Linked DNA regions of Homo sapiens: region 2 is linked to region 1. The links are contacts of gene promoters, found by promoter capture Hi-C in human tissues and cell types (Jung and others, 2019). All regions are on one chromosome and are shown on one strand. Each heading gives the region's core, a stretch centred on a gene start or on the middle of the fragment in contact. The rest is flanking DNA. Distances are from core to core; before and after follow the strand shown.

Region 1 (5,612 bases), core at 1,852-4,351:
GAGCTGCTTCCTGATCCCAAGCAGGTCGTTGCCCCTGGAAGGACATGGCTCCGGTGATCCATGCTTCATGCCCACCCAGAAACACACCCCTCAGTGTGTGCCTCAGTTTACCTTGGAGATCATTTTTCATCTCCAGCATCCGTTTCCTTTAGGCTGACTAAAAACAGTTTTGGAAACAAAGCTATTTTGAAGTATTCAAGCAGAGGAATTCTCTAACACTGTCCCCCTTGTCTTTTTTTAATATTCTGGCTATTTTAGATGCCTAAATTTTTTTCTTGAGATTTATTTATTTTTATAGATGGGGTTTTCACTATGTTGCCCAGGCTGGTCTTGAACTCCCAACCTCAGGAAATCCTCCTGTCTCAGCCCCACAAAGTGCCAGGAATATAGGCATGGGCCAGTGTGCCCCGTCTCTTGAGACTGAAATGAAAAATTGCTTGTGGTTTAAATCCCCAGAATTTAATGAAACATGGGAAGATGGCTAAAGATACGTATAAACTTTGGTTTGCATTTTATTAAATTATTTGAATGCAAAACTTGTATAAAGAATCCATTATGTTCTGTAGCTTTCTAATTAAAATGTTCAACATGGAAGGTTGTATTAGCTATTTTTGAAGCAAGGCTTTGGAGGGAGGAAGAATAGGGAGGGCTGAAGTTGAGCACACTTCTCCGAGTTACTCACCAGTAGCCTTGCTTTGCCACGGCTCTGCCCAAAGACCTTGGAGCTTTTGTTAGCTCTTTGGCAAAAGTTTCCTGGTCCAACCCCAAGTATATTAGTTTTTAGTGGAATCCACATGGCATATGGGAGCTGCGGGTTGGAAAATTACAACTGTGTCTGGTGAATATCAAATTATTTACGGATCATTTATTGGTAGTTTCTGAAACTGAACCACACAGCATAGTTGCAGGAGGAAGAAAGGTAAGAAATACACAGGATTTTATCAACTGAGCTGAAGCCATAGATAAGTCATATTTGAGATAATTATTGAATTTGTTTTGTGGGAGAGAAATCTCTAATTCTTCCAAATGATTAGTCCAGTTTCTGCCAAAGCAGGTGAGGTGTCTAATGCCCCACTGAGTGCCCATCTTGAAGCTTATTAAAGCAATTCTCTCTCTTTGCGTCCCTCTTACCTTATCCTCCACATCCTTGCCCCCTCTCCTTATTCATGCTTTGTAAAGAGGTTTTGGAGCTTTCTGGCCAGATAACTTCTAAATACTGATTAAGGAAATGTAAATTACATGATCCTAAGGAAAATAATGATTGCCGGCCAATCCCCTACCCAGAGTTATGGTTGGCCTTCTGGCACACATCTTTCTATCCCATACACTATTTCTAACTTTTTAAAAATCATGAACAGGCCGGGCACGGTGGCTCATGCCTGTAATCCGAGCACTTTGGGAGACAGAGGCGGGCAGATCACATCTGAGCTCAGGAGTTCGAGACCAGCCTGGACAACATGGTGAAACCCTGTCTCTACTAAAAGTACAAAAATTAGCCTGGCGTGGTGGTGGGCACCTGTAATCCCAGCTATTCAGGAGGCTGAGGCAAGAGAATCACTTGAACTCGAGAGGCGGAGGTTGCAGTGAGCCTAGATCCTGCCATTGCACTCCAGCCTGGGCTACAAAAGTGAGACTCCATCTGAAAAAAAAATCAGTATCAAAATCATGAACAACACTTATATGAACCCTGTACATAAATCCTTGTTTCTGGTTTATTTCCTTAAGATAGCTCCTAGAAAGGAATTACCAATCCGAAAAGCTTACGACCATTGTCAAGAATCTTAATTCATCTTGCCAAACCACAACCAGGAAGGACTGCTTATTTCTTCTCCCAGCAGCAGGGAGTTCTTGATTAAGATCCCATCACTAATTTGACAAGACCTAGAAATGCTTCATCCTTTTCAGGTGCCTGGGCTCTGCCCTGTTATTTGTAAAGGGGATTTTTTTTTTTTTTTTTTTTGAAACAGTTTCGCTCTGTCGCCCAGGCTGGAGTGCAGTGGTGCAATCTCAGCTCACTGCAACCTCCGCTTCCTGGGCTCAAGCAGTTCTCCTGCCTTAGCCTCCTGAGTAGCTAGGATTACAGGTGCCTGCCACCACGCCCGGCTAATTTTTGTATTTTTAGTAGAGACGGGGTTTCACCCTGTTGGCCAGGCTGGTCTCGAACTCCTGACCTCGTGATCCACCCACTACGGCCCCCCAAAGTGCTGGGATTACAGGCGTGAGACACCGCGCCTGGCCGGATTTTTTTTTTTTTTTTTTGCGAGGGAGTCTCGCTTTGTCGCCCAGGCTGGAGTGCAGTGGTGCGATCTCGGCTCACTGCAAGCTCCGCCTCCCGGGTTCACGCCATTCTCCTGCCTCAGCCTCCCGAGTAGCTGGGACTACAGGTGCCCGCCACCAGGCCTGGCTAATTTTTTTGTATTTTTAGTAGAGACGGGGTTTCACTGTGTTAGCCAGGATGATTTCGATCTCCTGACCTCGTGATCCGCCCGCCTCGGCCTCCCAAAGTGCTGGGATTACAGGCGTGAGCCACCGCGCCCAGCCCTGGCCGGAAATATCTTATTTATTGAAACGTATCATGTCTTTATCTGGACCTGCTATGAACCTGCGCCTCTGGGCCTAGGCTAGGGCAGGGAATGCGCAGGAGGAGGGGAAAAGCTGCGGACCCAGCTCCTAAGGCCACCTGGTCTCTCCGCTCTTCCCAGTTGGGACACTGCACCGGGTCCATGTGTCATCCAGGTGCCGTGGCCTTGGGAAGGGTTTGGATTCCAAGTCACCTCGCCGCAAGGATGCCCCCGAGAGTGAGGAGGGTCAAGATTAAGATTCGACTTCCTTCACTAGGGCCTTTGTCCTCCCAGGAGCCCCCCTTCTCTGGGGATTTGGGGTGGGGTGGGGTACAACGTTCCTCTGTAGTCAGATGAGAGGTGACTCTGCCAGCGCCCTTTGACATTCTGGGCTAAAAGTTGAGCCTCTCAGAGCCCCAGCCCACCTGGGCCCTCCTGCCCCGCCCTCGGCCGGCGCCCCTCCCCCGAGGCGTGGCCCCTCGGTCGGGGGTGGGCCAACCGGCTCCTTCCTTCCCCCACGGCGCTAGCTCCCGCTGGCCACCTCGGGACCGCAGCCACGTCTGAAAGCGCCTCATTGTGTGCGCTCGGGCGGGCTGCACCGGGCAGCGCCGAGGGTTGCCGGCCGGCGCGCGGGGAGTAGAGGGCGCGGGCCGCAGTGCCGGGTTCCAGAGGGAGCTCTGCGCCGGGTCCTTCCCTGTGGTAGCCCCAGGACACCCCCAGCCTCAACATCCCATTCTGGGACTCCTGCCCTGTTCCCACATTCGTTCTACCTCGAGTCTCCAGGAGCTTCCAGTGGCTTGGTCACCGCCAACTCTCGTCCATGCCTCTTAGAGCCCCTTTCCCGGCCTCACCGGGTGTCGCTTAATAGTCTTGGGACCTTAAGGAGCAAGTCAGCCCCTGCGGACCCTCCCAGTGAAGAGAAAGAGCTGGCTGTGCGGTGGAATTTGGAAGAGACGACGTTTGGGAGCCTTTGCTGAGTCCAGGGAGAGAGGCGTCCCCCACCGTGCCGCTGCAGCTCGGGCAGAGCCGCCAAGCTTTGGGGTACGTTGGTTCTTCATTCTCCGCGGGGGATGTCCCCACACTCGGGTCGGCTGGGGGCCGGGCTGGTGGCACAGCTGGGGACGCTCCTCTGTCCTGCACCGGGGACCTGGGGTGGCGGGAAGAGCTGGGAGTGGCTTTTCCATCAGCAACGTGGAAAGGGCATCGCCGCTGTTGGCGCCGGTTTGGAAGTGTCTTGCTGGGGCTTCGGCTGCGCAGGAGAATCCTCACTGCGAGGGGAGAACCCCTTTTGTCTCGATACTTGAGTTTCAAAGGACATGACTTTCAAAAGCTCTCCAAGGGCTTTTTCCATAGAATTATTGAGAGACGGTAGCTTGGCGGGTTGATTTGGAACCAGACCCAGGGGAATTGGAGTCCTGCGTCACTGCTTCTGACGGCTTCATCTTGGGCTTCAGGACAGGCCCTCTGGGCCTCAGGACAGGTGCCTAGCAAATGTTGACTTTCCTTTCTCCTCCCTTTTTCACAGAGGCAAGGCAGTCAAGTTTCCCATTTTTGAGGATGGGAAAACTGAGGCCTGAAGAGCAGAAAGGAGTTGGCTGACTTAAACCCACAAGCGAGTAGGCCAAGTACCAGGGCCTCTGAGGGTGCTATGCTGCTCCGGGAGCTGGGGCTGGGCTCCTCTCCAGCCTGAGAGGCCGGAACTTTTCTGGCTTTGTTCTACAAACAGAGTCAACTGGAGTATAGAGAGCCAGAGAGTGACTTGCTCTAAGTCACACCCCTCACTGGTAGTAGAGACAGGATTTGAACCCAATCCGGCTTCAGAAGCCAAGCTTCTAAGGCCAGTCGCAGTGGTTCACGCCTGTAATCCCAGCACTTTGGGAGGCCGAGGCAGGTGGATCACCTGAGGTCAGGAGTTCAAGACCAGCCTGGCCAACATGGTGAAACCCCATCTCTACTAAAAATACAAAAATAAGCTGGGCATGGTGGTGAGTGCCTGTAATCCCAGCTACTTGGGAGGCTGAGGCAGAAGAATCACTTGAACCCAGGAGGCGGAGGTTGCAGTGAGCTGAGATTGCGGTACTTCACTCCAGTCTGGACAACAGCGAGACTCCATCTCAGAAAAAACACAAGCCAGGCCTCTAGCCATGACTTTCCAGCGTCTTCTGTTTTGTTTGCCCTTGTGGGGACCCTGTCTGTGCCTGCCACATTCTGTTGCTGGGGCACTGGGGCACCTGAATCTGGTAGAGCCATTGTCCTTGGGTTTTCCTCATTCAAAGACTTTCCCTTGGATTCATAGAATATAAGTGTGGCCCAGGAAGGAAGATTGCTAAGCAAATACTCATAAGTGCACTATGCGCCAGACTTTGTTCTGCTTTACAAATATCCACTCACTCACTCTTTCAATCAAGCCCATGAGTTGGGTTATATTGTTTCCCCCACTTTACAGATTTTTTTTTTTTTTTTTGATACGGAGTCTCGCTCTGTCACCGAGGCTGGAGTGCAGTGAAAGTGACATAATCTCGGCTCACTGCAACCTCTCCGCATCCCAGGTTCAAGCGATTCTCCTGCCTCAAATTCCTGAGTAGCTGGGATTACAGGCACCCGCCACCACGCCCGGCTAATTTTTGTATTTTTAGTAAAGATGGGGTTTCACTATGTTGGTCAGGCTGGTCTCAAACTCCTGACCTCGTGATCCGCCCTCCTCAGCCTCGCAAAGTGCTGGGATTACAGGTGTGAGCCACCGCACCTGACCTTCCAGATTTTTTTTTAACCAAGCAGGCACAGAAGGAAGTAACTTGCACAAGATCGCTCAGTAAATGGTCAAGTGGGATTCACACTCTTAACCTCAGTGCTCTATACCTACTGTCTTTAATGAGACAGACACCATTCTGCTTCTAGTGTCTTGGGCGGGGAAATGGGTCCAGAAATACATGAACAAGATTGTTCTGGGTAGTGATAATAGTATTAATAATAATTTCTCACTATCACCTATTAGTCAATATTGAAATATATCTGATTACCTCTAGGGTATCTCCTGGCAGATGTTTTTTT
Region 2 (5,612 bases), core at 1,765-4,264, 120 kb before region 1:
CTCCCCTTCCTGGGTTTAAGCGATTCTCCTGCCTCAGCAGGCACCCACCATCACGCCCAGCTAATTTTTGTATTTTTTTAGAGACGGGGTTTCACCATGCTGGCCAAGCTAGTCTTGAACTCCTGACCTCAGGTGATCTGCCCACATTGGCCTCCCAAAGTGCTGGGATTAAAGGTGTGAGCCACCGCACCTGGTAAGCAATCTTGAATGACAGGAAGCTTTGGGCCTCAACAAGAATATGAAAATTCCTTAGAGATCTGGGGGTTTTTATTTGTCTGTTTCAGTGGTTTTTTTTTTTTTAAGAGACAGGGTCTCACTGAAGTACGGTGGTACTATCATAGCTCACTGCAGCCTTGAACTCCTGGGCTCAAGTGATCCTCCCACTTCAGCTTCCTGAGTAGCTGGACTATAGGTGTGCACAGCTATGCACACCTATGTGCAGCTAATTTTTTTCATTTTTATTTTGTAGAGATTTGGTCTCACTGTGTTAGCCAGGCTGGTCTCAAACTCCCAGCCTCAAGCTATCCTCCTGCCTTGGCCTCCCAAAGTGCTGGGATTACAGGCATGAGCTATTGCGTCCCTGGCCGAGATCTGGGGTCTTTACCTCTTCTAGCTAGCAGGTTCCTCTTTGAGTTGGCTTCTACCATTCTCCTTGCCTTAACCTCCTGTATATGAGGAACCTGTTCCAGGATCACTGTGGATTGGATTAGATGGAATTGTACCACCATGAGCACAAGTAGGATACTTCTGTACAAAAGATCTAGACCTTTGTTCTCCGAATGAGGTTTTTCTATAAATTAATGTTTCTCACCTGGGGGTGATTTGCATCCCAGAGGACATTTCGCAATGTCTAGAGACATTTTTAGTTGTCACAACTGAGGGAGGGGTGCTAGTGTCATCTCATGGGTAGAGGCCAGGAATACTACTAATAAACAGTCTACAGTGTATGGATGGAATAGATCCCCCACAACAAAAAATTTTCTGGCCCAAAATGTCTACAGTGCTGGGTTGAGAAACCCTGCACCTGATGCATTGTTATTCATGATTGTGGTACCTTCTGGCAAAGCTCTCCAGGAGCTACATGACCATCCTGGGTGCTGGTGGGACTGCTGTGTTCTGCTTCTAGGAACCAGACCCTCTCCAGCTTCCATATGTCTTCACCTGGTGTCCTATCTTTGCCGCAGGAGACATCCTCAATGATAGCCATGCTGAGGTCATAGCCAGAAGGAGTTTCCAAAGGTAAAGCCACATCTCCAGAGTATGGTTCAGCAGGACTGGGGTGGGAGTCCCGGAATTTACTTTTTTTTTTTTTTTTGGGGGGGACAGAGTCTTGCTCTGTTGCCCAGGCTGGAGTGCAGTGGCATGATCTCAGCTCACTGCAACCTCCGCCTGCTGGGTTCAAGCAATTCTCCTGCCTCAGCCTCCCAAGTAGCTGAGACTACAGGCCCGTGCCACCATGCTCAACTAATTTTTTGTGTTTTTAGTAGAGATGGGGTTTCACCATGCTGGCCAGGCTGGTTTTAAACTCCTGACCTCATTATCCACACGCCTCAGTCTCTCAAAGTGCTGGGATTACAGGTGTGAGCCACCGCGCCTCACCCAGAATTTACATTTCTAATAAGCTCCTAGGTAATACAGATGATATTAGTCTGTAAACTACACTTTTGAGTAGTAATGTGGTCTAGACTAGTGGTTCTCTCTTTTTTTTTTTTTTTTTTTTTTTTTTGGACACAGGGTCTTGCTCTGTTACCTAGGCTAGAGTGCAGTGATGTGATCTCAGCTCATTGCAGCCTTGGCCTCCTGGGACTCAAGCAAGCCTCCCACCTCAGCCTCCTGAATAGCTGGGGTTACAGGCGCATGCCACCACACCCAGCTAACTTTTCCTGGGTTTTTTTTTTTTTTTAAAGACAGGGTGTCACTATGCTACCCAGGCTGGTGTTGGATTCCTGGGGCTCAAGCGATCCTCCTGCCTCAGCCTCCTAAAGTGCCGGATTTACAGGCATGAGTCACAATCCTGGCCTGGACTAGTGGTACTCAAACTTGATTGTACATCAGAAGAACCTAGAAGGCTTGTTAAAACCCAGATTGCTGAGCCCACCACAGAGATTCTGATTCAGCATATCTAGGGTGGAACCTCAGAAATTGGGTTTCTTCTTTCTTTTTTATTTTTCTAAAAAAAAAAAAAGAAACAAAAATAGAGTCTCACTCTGTCACCCAAGCTGAAGTACAGTGGCAGAATCATAGCTCACTACAGCCTCAAACTCCTGGGCTTAAGCAGTCTTCCTGCCTCAGTCTCCCAAGTAGCTGGGGTTACAGATATGAGCCACCGAGGCCAGTTGAAATTGGAGGTCTAACAAATTCCCAGGTGATGCTGATGCTGCTGGTACAGGGACCACACTTTGAGAATCACTGGTCTAGAGCATTCTCATAATTCCCCATCACTACCAGTCCCATTAGTCTACAGTAAGCTGTCTTAGTAATCACCCAACCAGAGGCTTTCCCCTTACCACAGAGATCGGTTGTTCATCCTAATAACATCTTGCAACCCTTAGGTACCTTCTCCACCAACTCCAGTTGGCAGCCACCCTGAAAGAGGATAGCATCTTTGTCCCAGGAACTCAAAAAGGAGTGTGGAAACTTAGACGAGACCTCATTTTTGTGTTTTTCTCCAGCCATACACCCTGTAAGTATATTCAAGCCTTTGGATTAATGTTACATGAACTACTTCCTTATGTTTGTGTTATCCATAGGTAGGTTTTTTCCTAAAAAGCACTAATGGCTGAAGTAGCCACAGGTAGTCACAAGTAGCCACAAGTAGTGACAGTGCCTTTTTATGACAGGCTAGTGTACCTAATCACTTCTAAAGGTTTCATCTAAAGAGAAGACAGAGGCAAGGGGTGCAGAGTCTCACTCATACTATTAGTCAATTCTCAGAATCAGGATTAGGAGCGTAAGGCTGAAACCTCACAAGATGTGAAGCCAACATGGGGCTTGGAAATCCTATAGTGACTTATCCTAAAACTCATTTCGTTCATTTAGTCATTGAACAAATACTTTCTACTATTTGTCAGGCACGATATGACATACTGAGTATACAGAAATGAATAAGACTAGCATATTGCTTACCTTCATAGTCTTTTAGGAAATGTAGACAGTCATGGTTAGTTAGGGTAAATTTTGGTGGGTTATAAGGGTATGTTCAGGTGCTATGGTTGCATAAGACAGGAAGACCTAGCCTGGGGTGAAGGGGGTGTCATTTCCGTCTTTTGTTTTTCTTTCTTAAAAATTGAAAATAACTTCTACCTTTTGTGGATAACAACTCAGGATGGCAGCAAAATTTTCTCACCCTAAAACCTTTGAAATAAGGATATAAGATTAAACCTTAAAACTTTTAAGCTTTAAAGCTAACACATGCAATTAGAGCAGAGATAAGAAATCACTATGAAGAAATAGAATAGCTGTGTAGATTTGATCATAACTCAAATTGAAAATATAGATACAGCTTAAGAAAGAATGAGGCCAGGCACGGTGGCTCACACCTGTAATGCCAGGACTTTGGGAGTCCGAGGCGGGCAGATCACTTGAGGTCGAGAGTTCCAGACCAGCCTGACCAACATGGAGAAACCCCATTTCTACTAAATATACAAAATTAGCTGGGCATGGTGGTGCATGCCTGTAATCCCAGCTACTCGGGAGGCTGAGGCAGGAGAATCATTTGAACCCGGGAGGCAGAAGTTGCAGTGAGCCGAGATTGCGCCGTTGCACTCCAGCCTGGATGACCCGGCAAGACTCAGTCAAAAAGAAGGGAAAAAAAAAAAAAGAGAGAGAAGAAAGAAAGAGTATGAGAAAAGAGTTTTAAGAGTCAAAGCCCAGAAAAATGACAGGTAGGCAGCACTCATCCTTGCTCTTTTCTTAGCCGTAAGGGCCCTAGTCCAAGGCCCAAAGGTTGTTTCCTAATCAGCTCCTCTCAAGCTGTAATATGCACATGAATCTCCTGAAGAACATGCAGATTGAGATTCATTAGGTCTGGAGTGGGGCCTGAGGTTCTGCATTTCTAGCCAACTCCCAAGGCATGCCAGCAGTGTGGGTCCATAGACCACACATTGAGTAGCTAGGACCGGGGTGATCCCAGTGACAGCTATAGCCTTATTGTGGAGAAAGAAGCATCTGAGGATCACAGCCTGATGGCCTAATCCAAACTTGTCTAACCCACGGCCTGCCTGGCTACATGCAGCCCAGGACAGCTTTGAATGTGGCCCAAGACAAATTCTTAAACTTTCTTAAAACATTATGAGATTTTTCTTGCGATTTTTTTTTTTTTTTTTTTTTTTTTTTTTTTTTTTTAGCTCATCAACTATCGTTTGCGTTCGTGTATTTTGTGTGTGGCCCAAGACAATTTTTATTCTTCCAATGTGGCCCAGGGAAGCCAAAATACTGGACACTTATGTAGTTTGATTATGCCCTTATCAAACTCCTTAAGTCAGTGGTCAACAAACAGGTACTGATCTGTGAGAACAGTCCCTGAAAAAAACCAAGAAAGCTCAAGACTATGTAGTGAATTTTGCAAAACTAATTTCTTTCACTTTAAAGGAAATGAGAGTTTTTTTTTAAGTGATGGCGATTGAATTTTTTTTTTTTTTCTCGATCTCGGCTCATTGCAATCTCCACCTCCCGGGTCCAGGCGATTCTCCTGCCTTGGCCTCCCAAGTAGGTGGGAATATAGGCATGCGCCACCACGCCCGGCTAATTTTTTTGTATTTTTAGTAGAAACAGGGTTTCACCACATTGGCCAGGCTGGTCTCGAACTCCTGACCTCAAGTGATTCGCCCACCTCGGCCTCCCAAAGTGCTGAGATTACAGGCATGAACCACTGCGCCTGGCCGGTAATTGAGATTTTTAAAGATCTTCCTTGATGGAATAAAAAGTTGGCAACCCTCTGTTCATCTTAAAAATCTTCAGGAAATTTTGCTGGTAATCTTTTAAAATGTGATGTCCTCCCATGGTTTGTCTGCAGAGAGAGAGAACATTACCTAGAGAATGTGCCTCTCTGGCTCCCTTGGTATTTACATCCTATGAGTAATTAATAATTTGTTGGCTGGGTTAGCTACTTCAGGCTCTTATGAGTTTTATTAGCATGAGTCAGGCTCTTGCATTCAGGCATTCTGTCAAGATCCAATTTCCAAGCCTGCAGAGTGGGAGATGGACCCTGGTGAGTTCTCCAAAGTCACTGTGACCTTGTGAGGTCTCTGGAAGTCAGCCAGCCAACCTCTCCAGATGTATTCCCACTTCTGTATCTCTTGCCTTTCCCACTCTTGAGTTATAAAGATTACAGATGTATTATTTATACACTTTAGAAAAGCAACACTCATCAGGTTAGTGTTTGAAGAAATCTTTCGCTTCTCAAGGGAGAGCTGTGGTTCTTACTGACCTCTAGTTTTCTTCTGTTTCCTGTAAGGACAGAGGAGGTCAGAAATCTCTAAACCAGCAAGAGGAAACACTGGAAATTTTGGAAACATTGGTTTAGACTAGGTGTGTAATTTACTTTAGAGTCTTTACTGTGGGGCCATGCATCATAAAATCTCCAAGATGGGGAAATTCTGAGCAATGGTTGC

The links. The method cuts DNA at HindIII sites, captures the fragments that hold promoters and counts their contacts. A contact is called where the count stands out against the background at its distance.
Region 2: a contact is called between a fragment that was not itself captured here and the fragment with the promoter of CHST6 in region 1, in 3 of the 25 tissues and cell types used here (H1 embryonic stem cells, aorta and heart right ventricle).

Annotation. Positions count from the first base shown.
Region 1 is chr16:75,492,930-75,498,541 of GRCh38, reverse strand. It overlaps CHST6 (carbohydrate sulfotransferase 6), which reads left to right and starts at 3,101. Exons shown (of 3, transcript NM_021615.5): 1 at 3,101-3,602. RefSeq lists a silencer at 2,898-3,227 and an enhancer at 3,528-3,707. The HindIII fragment of the contact is 2,567 bases long and covers 1,427-3,993 here.
Region 2 is chr16:75,614,213-75,619,824 of GRCh38, reverse strand. ADAT1 (adenosine deaminase tRNA specific 1) reads left to right here. Exons shown (of 10, transcript NM_001324445.2): 4 at 1,185-1,239; 5 at 2,553-2,683. Among named protein-coding and RNA genes, the nearest start is that of ADAT1, 6.3 kb to the left of the region's middle. The HindIII fragment of the contact is 7,833 bases long and covers 1-5,612 here.